Linked DNA regions of Homo sapiens: region 1 is linked to region 2. Evidence: promoter capture Hi-C in 16 types of primary human blood cells and fetal thymus (Javierre and others, 2016). All regions are on one chromosome and are shown on one strand. Each heading gives the region's core, a stretch centred on a gene start or on the middle of the fragment in contact. The rest is flanking DNA. Distances are from core to core; before and after follow the strand shown. Region 1 overlaps ZNF480 (zinc finger protein 480). Region 2 holds the start of VN1R4 (vomeronasal 1 receptor 4).

The links. Contacts are between HindIII fragments. The CHiCAGO score rates a contact against its expected background, and 5 or more counts as called.
Region 1: a contact is called between a fragment that was not itself captured here and the fragment with the promoter of VN1R4 in region 2, in 1 of 17 cell types (M1 macrophages). The highest score is 5.1, in M1 macrophages.

What each region holds. Positions count from the first base shown.
Region 1 is chr19:52,318,480-52,323,605 of GRCh38, forward strand. It overlaps ZNF480 (zinc finger protein 480), which reads left to right. Exons shown (of 5, transcript NM_144684.4): 5 at 3,100-5,126. The coding sequence ends at 4,379. Among named protein-coding and RNA genes, the nearest start is that of ZNF610, 15 kb to the right of the region's middle. The HindIII fragment of the contact is 4,353 bases long and covers 1,113-5,126 here.
Region 2 is chr19:53,264,906-53,269,570 of GRCh38, forward strand. VN1R4 (vomeronasal 1 receptor 4) reads right to left here and starts at 2,818. Exons shown (of 1, transcript NM_173857.3): 1 at 1,771-2,818. The coding sequence starts at 2,760. The coding sequence ends at 1,855. RefSeq lists an enhancer at 4,470-4,665. The HindIII fragment of the contact is 11,315 bases long and covers 1-4,665 here.

The DNA.
Region 1 (5,126 bases), core at 2,039-4,538, 950 kb before region 2:
TCTTTACATTGTGGTAATTGTTTTCTTCTATCCACAATAGTTCTCAATTTTGTCATAGTGCATCGTGTGTATATTTACCTTCTTTCCTGTACTATCAATTTTATATCTGGGGAAATGTTGAATCCAATCTCATGAAGCTTTTTACCTATGGTTTTTTCTAGGAGTTTTATCGTTTTAGGTCATGAATAGACTTTAAGTTAATTTTTGCATGGGGTGTAAAGTAAGGGTTCAGCCTCATTCCTTTGCTTGTGGGCATCCTTTTTCTTCAGCACTATTTGATGAAGTGACTGTCCTTTCCTTGTTACATGGTCTTGACATTTTGATTGAACATTATTCTACCAAGTATTTGAGGGTTTGTTTCTGGCTTCTCTATTCTTGCTTTTTTTTTCATTTTTGCATGGGGGGATGGATTCTCGCTCTGTCATCCAAGCTGGAGTGCAGCAGTGAGATCTTGGCTCACTGCAACCTCTGCCTCCTGGGTTCAAGTGATTCTCCTGCCTCAGCCTCCCGAGTAGCTGGGATTACAGGCATGTGCCACCATGCCTGGCTAATTTTTGTATTTTTAGTAGAGATGGGGTTTCACCACGTTAGTCAGTCTGGTCTCAAACTCCTGACCTCAAGCAATCTGCCCGCCTCGGCCTCCCAGAACCCTGAGATTACAGGTGTGAGCCACCACACCTGGGTCATTTTTTACTTTAATGGAGAATTTTATCCTCTCATTTGGGTTACCAGTACTGTCTGGAATCCTTTTATTTCATTTTGAAGGGCTCCCTGTAGCATTTCTTGTTGGACAGGTCTAGAGTAGTAATGAACTTTCTTAGCTCTTCTTTATCGAGGAAAATCTAAATTTCTCCTTTATTTTTGCAGGTGACTTTTGCTAAATATAGTATTCTTGGTTGATTTTAAGCACTTTCAATATGTCATCTCACTGCCTTCTGGCAGGCAAAGTTTCCGCTGGAGAAAGTACATAGTCTTATACCTTTTCCTCTAAATGGCAAATATCTTTTTTGTTGCTCCTGTCAAAATTCTTCCTCTGTCTTTGATGTTTGATAATTTGCTTATAATGTATCTCTGTGTGAATGTCCTTGGGTTCATTTTAATTTGAATGGTCAAGCTTCTTGAATTGTATATTCAGGTCTTTCTTCAGAATTGGGATTTGGACAATTATTTGGACATTATTTCTTCAGTTGCAATTTCTGATCCTCTGTCTTCTCCTTGTGAACCTCTAATAATTTGTATGTTGTTGTGCTTGAGAGCATCCGAAAAATGTATTAGCGTTTATTTGCTTTTCTTCTCTGTTTTTTGTTTTTGGTCTTTGTAGCTGATACTGTGTTTTTTTTTTTTTTTTTTTTTTTTAAATTAGAGTCTTGCTCTGTAGCCCAGGCTGGAGTGTAATGGCTCCATCTTGGCTCACTGCAATCTCTGCCTCCCAGGTTCAAGCGATTCTCCTGCCACAGCCTCCTGAGTAGCTGGGATTACAGGTGCATGCCCCCATGTCCATCTAATTTTTGTATTTTTAGTAGAGACAGGCTTTCACCATGTTGGTCAGGCTGGTCTCAAACTCCTGACCTAGTGATCCTCCTGCCTTGGCCTCCCAAAGTGCTGGGATTACAAGCGTGAGCCACTGTGCCTGGTGGAGCTGATACTTTTGAATAACTGACCTTTAAGTTTGCTCATTCTTTTTGGTGCTCTATCCATCTGCTGTTGAGCACCTAATGAATTTTTACTTTATTTATTGTGTTTCAGCTCCAGAATGTTTTTTGTTTCCTCCTTTGTTTAATATCCTCCTTCTCATGTATTGTTTTTCTGATTTCATTTAGTTGTCTATCTCTCCTTGATATCTTTTAGCTCATTAAGAATCTTAAGGCAGTTGCTTTAAATATTTGTCAAGGGCCAGGTGCAGTGCCTCATGCCTGTAATCCCAACACTTTGGGAGGCCAAGGCAGGAGGATCACTTGAGCCAAGGAGTTCGAGACCAGTCTAGGCAATATCACGAGCCCTTGTCTCTAAAAGAACACAGAAAAAACTTGCTGAGGCTGGATGTGGTGGCTCACGCCTGTAATCCCAGCACTTTCGGAGGCTGAGGTGGCCGGATCATGGTCAGGAGTTCCAGACCAGCCTGGCCAACATGGTAAAACCCCATCTCCACTAAAAATACAAAAATTAGCTGAGCATGTTGGCCGGCACCTGTAGTCCCAGTTACTCGGGAGGCTGAGGCAGGATAATTGCTTGAACCTGGAGGTGGAGGTTGCAGTGAGCTGAGATTGCATCATTGTACTCCAGCCTGGGCAACAAGAGCAAAACTCCATCTTAAAAACAAACAAAAGAAATAACAAAAAACCCCAAAACTTGCTGAATGTGGTGGTGCATGCCTGTAGACCCAGCTACTCAGGAGGCTGAAGCAGGAGAGATCGCTTGAGCTGGGGAAGTAGATGCTGCAGTGAGCTACACTATACCACTGCACTCCAGCCTGGACGATAGAGTGAGACCCTGTCTTAAATAAATAAATAAATAAATATTTGTCTAGTAATTTAGAGAGCTGCCTGTCTTTTTCTAGGTTTGGCTTTATTTATTTTTTAGCCATATTTCTCTTTCCTTTCATAGGCCTTGTAATTTTTGGATTAGGTTTGGTAAAATAACTGCTTCTCTCAGTTGTTTTGTATAAGACTTGGTCAGAGGGAGATCTTTTCTAATTAGCCTGTTGTAAAGGGTGTGGGAACACTCACTCCTTTTCTGGGGATGTGCCTTTCCTAGCTTTGTGCATGTACTGTTATTATGTATACTGCTTCTCTTGAGTGTCTTATTTTCCCTAGAGACTTGTCCCTTCTTTTTCTCAGAAGGTTTCAATTCCTGTTCTATCTCTCTACTCATAATCCCTCTCAAACTCACCTGTAATCCTCCTGACTCCTACAGATTTCCCAGAACTCCAGTGCATCACCTTACCCTTTTCTATTTTCAGCACAACCAGCGTGATGTACAAAGTGTGCTGATATTTCTTCCAATGTCTGAGTCAGATGAGGCAGATTCTAGTATTTTCATCAGACTCTAAACATGCCAGAATTATGGGGTCTGAATTTTACTTTTTTCTTGCTTTCCTAGGGAGCAGCTATGCATTGGGAAGCAATGCAGAAGACAAACCAATTAAAAAACAACTTGGAGTATCCTTTCACTTACATCTGTCTGAACTGGAGCTATTTCCAGATGAAAGGGTAATAAATGGATGTAATCAAGTTGAAAACTTTATCAACCACAGTTCCTCTGTTTCCTGTCTTCAAGAAATGTCTTCCAGTGTCAAAACCCCCATTTTTAATAGGAATGATTTTGATGATTCTTCATTTCTCCCACAAGAACAGAAAGTACACCTTAGAGAAAAACCTTATGAATGTAATGAGCATAGCAAAGTCTTTAGAGTATCTTCCAGCCTTACTAAACATCAAGTAATCCATACTGTAGAGAAACCTTACAAATGTAATTCATGCGGCAAGGTCTTTAGTCGCAATTCACACCTTGCAGAACATTGTAGAATTCATACTGGAGAGAAACCTTACAAATGTAATGTCTGTGGCAAGGTTTTTAGTTACAATTCAAACTTTGCACGACATCAAAGAATTCATACCAGAGAGAAGCCGTATGAATGTAATGAATGTGGTAAAGTCTTCAGTAATAATTCTTACCTTGCACGACATCAAAGAATTCATGCTGAAGAGAAACCTTACAAATGTAATGAATGTGGTAAAGGCTTCAGTCATAAGTCATCTCTAGCAAATCATTGGAGAATTTATACTGGAGAGAAGCCTTACAAATGTGATGAATGTGGCAAGGCCTTCTATAGGATTGCGCTCCTTGTACGACATCAGAAAATTCATACTGGAGAGAAACCTTACAAATGTAATGAATGTGGAAAGGTCTTTATTCAAAATTCGCACCTAGCACAACATTGGAGAATTCATACAGGAGAGAAACCTTACAAATGTAATGAATGTGGAAAAGTATTTAATCAACTTTCAAATCTTGCACGACATCGAAGAATTCATACTGGAGAGAAGCCTTACAAATGTAATGAATGTGGTAAAGCATTTAGTGAGTATTCAGGCCTTTCAGCCCATCTTGTAATCCACACTGGAGAGAAGCCTTACAAATGTAGTGAATGTGGCAAGGCATTCAGACACAAGTTATCACTAACCAATCATCAGAGAATCCATACTGGAGAAAGACCTTACAAATGTAATGAATGTGGCAAGGTCTTCAATCGAATTGCACACCTTGCACGACATCGGAAAATTCATACTGGAGAGAAACCTTACAAATGTAATGAGTGTGGCAAGGCCTTTAGTCGCATTTCATACCTAGCACAACATTGGACAATTCATATGGGATAGAAACTACAAATGCAACAAATGCGTCAAAGAATTTAGTGTGCACTCAAGCCTTACTACCCATCTTTTATTCCATACTGCAAAGAAATTTTGCAAATGTAAAGAATATGACAAGGTCTTCAAACACAAGTTTTTCTAATAACTCATTAGAGAATTTATACTGGAGAGACTTCACAATTATAATAAATGTGTGGAAAAGTCTTCAAAAAAATTTCACACCTTGCAAAAGGAGATCTAAAAAACACAATCAGAAATGACAAAGGGGACATTACCACCAACCCCACAGAAATACGAAAAACCCTCAAAGATTACTATAAACACCTGTATGCACACAAACTAGAAAACCTAGAAAAAATTAATAAATTCCTTGAAAGATATAACCCCCCAAGATTGAACCAAGAAGAAATTGCATCCCTGAACAGACCAATAATGAGTTCCAAAATTTAATCACTAATTAAAAATCTATCAAACAAAACTCTGGACCAGACAGATTTATAGTTGAAGCCTACGAGATGTATAAAGAAAAGCTGTTACCAATCTTACTGAAACTGTTCAAAAACATGGATGCAGAGGGACTCCTCCCTATCTGATTCTATGAGGCCAGCATCATTCTAATACCAAAACCTGACAGGCACAATGAAAAAAGAAAACTTCAGGCTGGTACTCCTGACGAATATAGGTGCCAAAATCCTCAGCAAAATACTAGTAAACCAAATCCATCTGCACATCAAAAAGCTAATCCAACATTAT
Region 2 (4,665 bases), core at 1,568-4,067:
ATCCATTATTACATTAAACTGAAACAGACAAATAATTTTTGTTATAGTAACATTGTTTGACTATAATTAATTGAATATTTTAGACAGATACATAAAACATTACGAAAAATATACAATAACGAAAAATACATTCTATGTAATTTTAACCAATTAAACAACTAGCATGGCTATGTAAATAACACATGAAATAGACTTCATAGTTGGTTTAACTTGTCACTATTATAATTAATATTTTTCTACATTTCTTAATGTAAACATTTCTAATATTCCTTGGTAGATAGCAAACATAATGCCACTTACTATAAACATACACACAGGTATGTTCCATCTTGCTTTGTGATCTAATGTGCAGTACATAATCCTAAGTGCCTCATACAAGTTAAAAATGTTTCCTTATTTTCGTTCATGAAGTTCAATACGTTAAGTCAAACGAATTCTTTTGTTCGATGAACTATTGAATCTTTAATACTTTGCATCAGCTTCATAATGAAAATAAAGACTCAGTATGTTAGATTGTTTCTTATAATTGGGGCATAAGCATTTTGCTCCTTTGGAAGTCTACCTGTCATAATCTCCACACGAACACAGTGGATTCATACTTTCTCCCTCAATATAGCCATTTCTCTGCTATTTCAAGTAAATTTGAAGGAAATGAATGTCTGTGCTCACTTGCTCACCTTAGAGGTAGGAAAACGCAACCCCCAAATCTCTTTCTTTCCAACATGGCCAACTGGCATCTTCACATGATAAAGAAAAAGAGTCTACCATCTACTCGTCTAGATCCTCAAATCTATGCAGTCTCACAGAGTGTGTGTGGTTTTCTGTTGTTGTTATTGTTGTTGTTTGTTTGTTTGCTTTGAGGCCGGGTCTCACTCCCTTAGCCCAGGCTGGAGTGCAGTGGCGCGATCTCGGCTCACTGCAAGCTCTACTTCCTGGGCTTCAAGTGATTCTTCCATCTCAGCCTCCCAAGTACCTGGGTCTACAGGCATGTGCTACCATGCCTAGGTAATTTTTTTCATATTTTTAGTAGAGATGAGGTTCCGACACGTTGCCCAGGATGGTCTCGAACTGCTGGGCTCAAGCCATCCTCCCGCCTTGGCCTCCCAGAATGCTGGGACTACAGGCATGAGCCAGCACGCCCAGTCAGCATCTGCTTTTTAATAGTCAGCATTCACAGGATGTTTTTAATTTTGGCATAAATATATTTTTTTGTCTCATTCTTGATCAGTGTAACCATTTCTACATGAAAATGATTTAAATATACTGATTTCCCTCCATATAGTTATATTTTAAATTACTATTATCTGTCTGAGGATGTAACGTACAGATTTTATAACTTGGGACCCAAATCTGGAATTAACCAAAACCTCGCCTCCAAGCAACCTCATTACTTCAGGAGAACATTTTTTTCTTCACTTTCCTGAATGGTCATATCACACACTGCTACTTGTCATGTAACTTTTTCAACAATCTCACGCTTACTTAATTTCTGCATAGATTTATTATATCAGATCGAAGGTTGCACACTCAAAGAGATCCCCATCATTGCCAGATTGATTCAGGACCTAATTTTTTTAATTGCGTAGACCTTTAATGACTCTACTGCAGGCCTTAATAAAACTTTGATAATATGAATATTTACATAATAATTGCATCATATTTCATTTACAATTGTTCTTACTAGTTATTGTTTATCATTGGGGTGGAAGTTCACCCTGTCTTGTTCATCACCTTCTCATAATTGGGAGAGGTTCATAATTAAGATTACATTGCGGCACAGAAGAGTAAGTCATCAATTGAACCATGAGCAAATATATACAATGTACATGTTTATGATGAGGTTAGGAGATCTTGTCATCTTTTCCAGGCAAAACAAAACCTGTATACACTGGGGTCACAGCTCATGAGAACAAAGGGGCTGAGAGTTGGGAAACATACACTCATTAAGGCTGAAGTGTTCACCAGTAAACTATTGGGATTATCCAAAAGAGCCATACAAACTTGGAAAAGGCAGGAGAGAGTGTAAGAAGACACAAAGGTGCTCACCAGGATGAGGATGCTCTGCGTAGCTCTGTTCTCTGGGGAGGCTCTGGGGGAGAGATTGCTCCTATCAATGTGCTGGACCCGCTGCTTGTGCCTGTGCAGTATGCAAACCATGGAGCTGCTGACCCAGAGCATGAGCCCCAGACACAACACATCAGGGAATGATAACAACATTGCACGCAGTGTCTGTGCGATTTTGTTGTTGCCTCCCCCAGAACAGTATCCCAAATCCTCGTTCACTGTGATGTTTGTGTAGTTCCATTTGCCAGTCACATACATGGGAAAGATGATGTTTACCAACATGCACACGATCCAGCACAGGAGAACAGAAAAGCCAACATGCTTGGGGGCTTTCTCTTTAAGTTTTGCCCACCTGGATTTCCTGGAGCTGACCGTGATCACCTGGAAGACACTCAAGAGGCAGGTGGTGCCAATGGACACTCCCCTGCCCACTCTATGGAGATAGAAAACAAGTTTGCACCCAAGAGCATTGAGAAAATATCTAACCCCAAAAGCTGCCATTGTCTGGGGGACTCCTTTACAGCGGAGAGCTAAGAAGTTGGCTACAATCAGGTGCTTAACAATCAAATCTGTGGACCTTAACCTGCACCCAGTGCAGTAAAAGGAGAGATAATGGAGAAGAACAGAGAAGCTCCCCAGGACTCCCACCACGGTCTGTGATAAGATCATTCCCACTGCCACATACCGGGAGGCCATTCTGCCACTGATGTCTGTCACTGATGTTTGTCTTCAGGGCTGGGAGGTCCTGCATGGAAATAGGAGGCATGAGCTACGTTTATAGTGTCACCTGCAACCCAGCATTCTCCACCTCCCATTGCTCTGCCCTTAGAAATACTTAAAGTCACTCTTCTCTTAAGAGGCTTTTGAGAGTTGAATGCGTAACCTTTAAAGAGCACTTCCCATGTGGGAATCACTGCTGTGCAGATCATACGTGCGGCAACTTCTTTATTCACAAACCTATGAGGCAGGCATTACTATTACTTTCATTGTAAATATGAGAAGGACATACACACAGAGAGGTGAAGTGGCTGGCAACATTTCCACCCTACTTACAGGCAAAATGCGAACTTGAACCTGCCTGGTTTTATTGCAAAGACAGTGCATTTAGCCGTTATAGTTGACTAACAAAGCTAGATAGCTGTGTTCTTTGAATAAGACACACACACACACACACACACACACACACACACACACACACATACACACACACACCCCTTTGTTTTTATTCCTTGTCATTATATTTCAGTCTTGTAGTAGGTTACTGTATGTTGTAATGATTTTACATTATGTGTAAAAATGTATTCTATTTGTCAATATCCAAATAAATAAAGGTTTAGAGATCTTAAAAAATGTAGATGCAGGGATTACAGTTTGATACTATAGAAACCTGCACCATGACAAGTTGGATTTAATGACTGCAAGCATGGATCAATATTAGAATGGAAAGAGAGTAAAAAACATTGTGAGCATTTGCTTTTGTGCCACGGACAAAGGCATAAAGGCACCTACCACAATCATGTCTTACCCAAAACAATAGGACATGAAACAACAATATGGGATAAAATAGTGTAAGGTAATAACCAAATTCTTACAAATGTTAGATGACATATCTAGATCTATTAATAACTGAGTTAAATAAATTATTATCCTTAGGACAATATTTGCATAACTAAATTAAAATGTGACAAACGTGAAAATTGGAAACTCTAGTGGGTGTATATTATATATACTTTGTAAACGGAAATTAGAGAGTTTGGGTGATGTTAGAATCTATCTGAAGCAGAGAACACATCAGAGGACACATTTGAGTCTGATAGCTGCTCTCTTTAGCTCATTATTATAAAGTTACCTTTTCCTTAAATGCTGCCTCCTTAACATCAAGAGGAAAGACAGTCTCACCATAATCAACAGACTATGGCAGTTTTCAGTAGAGACACAATTAATGCTCCCATTAAGCCCTGCACACTCTCAGAATTAGAGAAAACATTTTCGTTCCAGCAACTACTAATTAGATACACTGTTTGTGTAAGGAATTACATGACTCCTGTAGAGTCAATCTATTCATTACAAGTATGGTGATATTATAGTCATTTCCTCAGCAATCCTGAAATTTTAGTGTATAATTCCTGTTGGGTAGGCGGAACAGCAGATTGATTTTAGTACCACAGTCCTTAAGAATGCAACCAGCTTTCATTATTACGACAGATTGATTTAAGAATGTTAGTCCTTAAGAACATAGTCAGGTTTCACTGTTATTTGGTGAAAAACCAACAGTGCGGGTCAGTGTGGATTCTCCTAAATCACATCAGGACCGCCCAAGGATTGGTGTGGGGCTAGGACCCCATTTCTCTTTAGTAGCTCAGCTCATGGCTCACAACCATTCCTCTTTTCTTGGTGACTTGGGGGTTAGACTAGTTTTCTTTTTTTTTTTTTTTTATTGATCATTCTTGGGTGTTTCTCGCAGAGGGGGATTTGGCAGGGTCATAGGACAATGGTGGAGGGAAGGTCAGCAGATAAACAAGTGAACAAAGGTCTCTGGTTTTCCTAGGCAGAGGACCCTGCGGCCTTCCGCAGTGTTTGTGTCCCTGGGTACTTGAGATT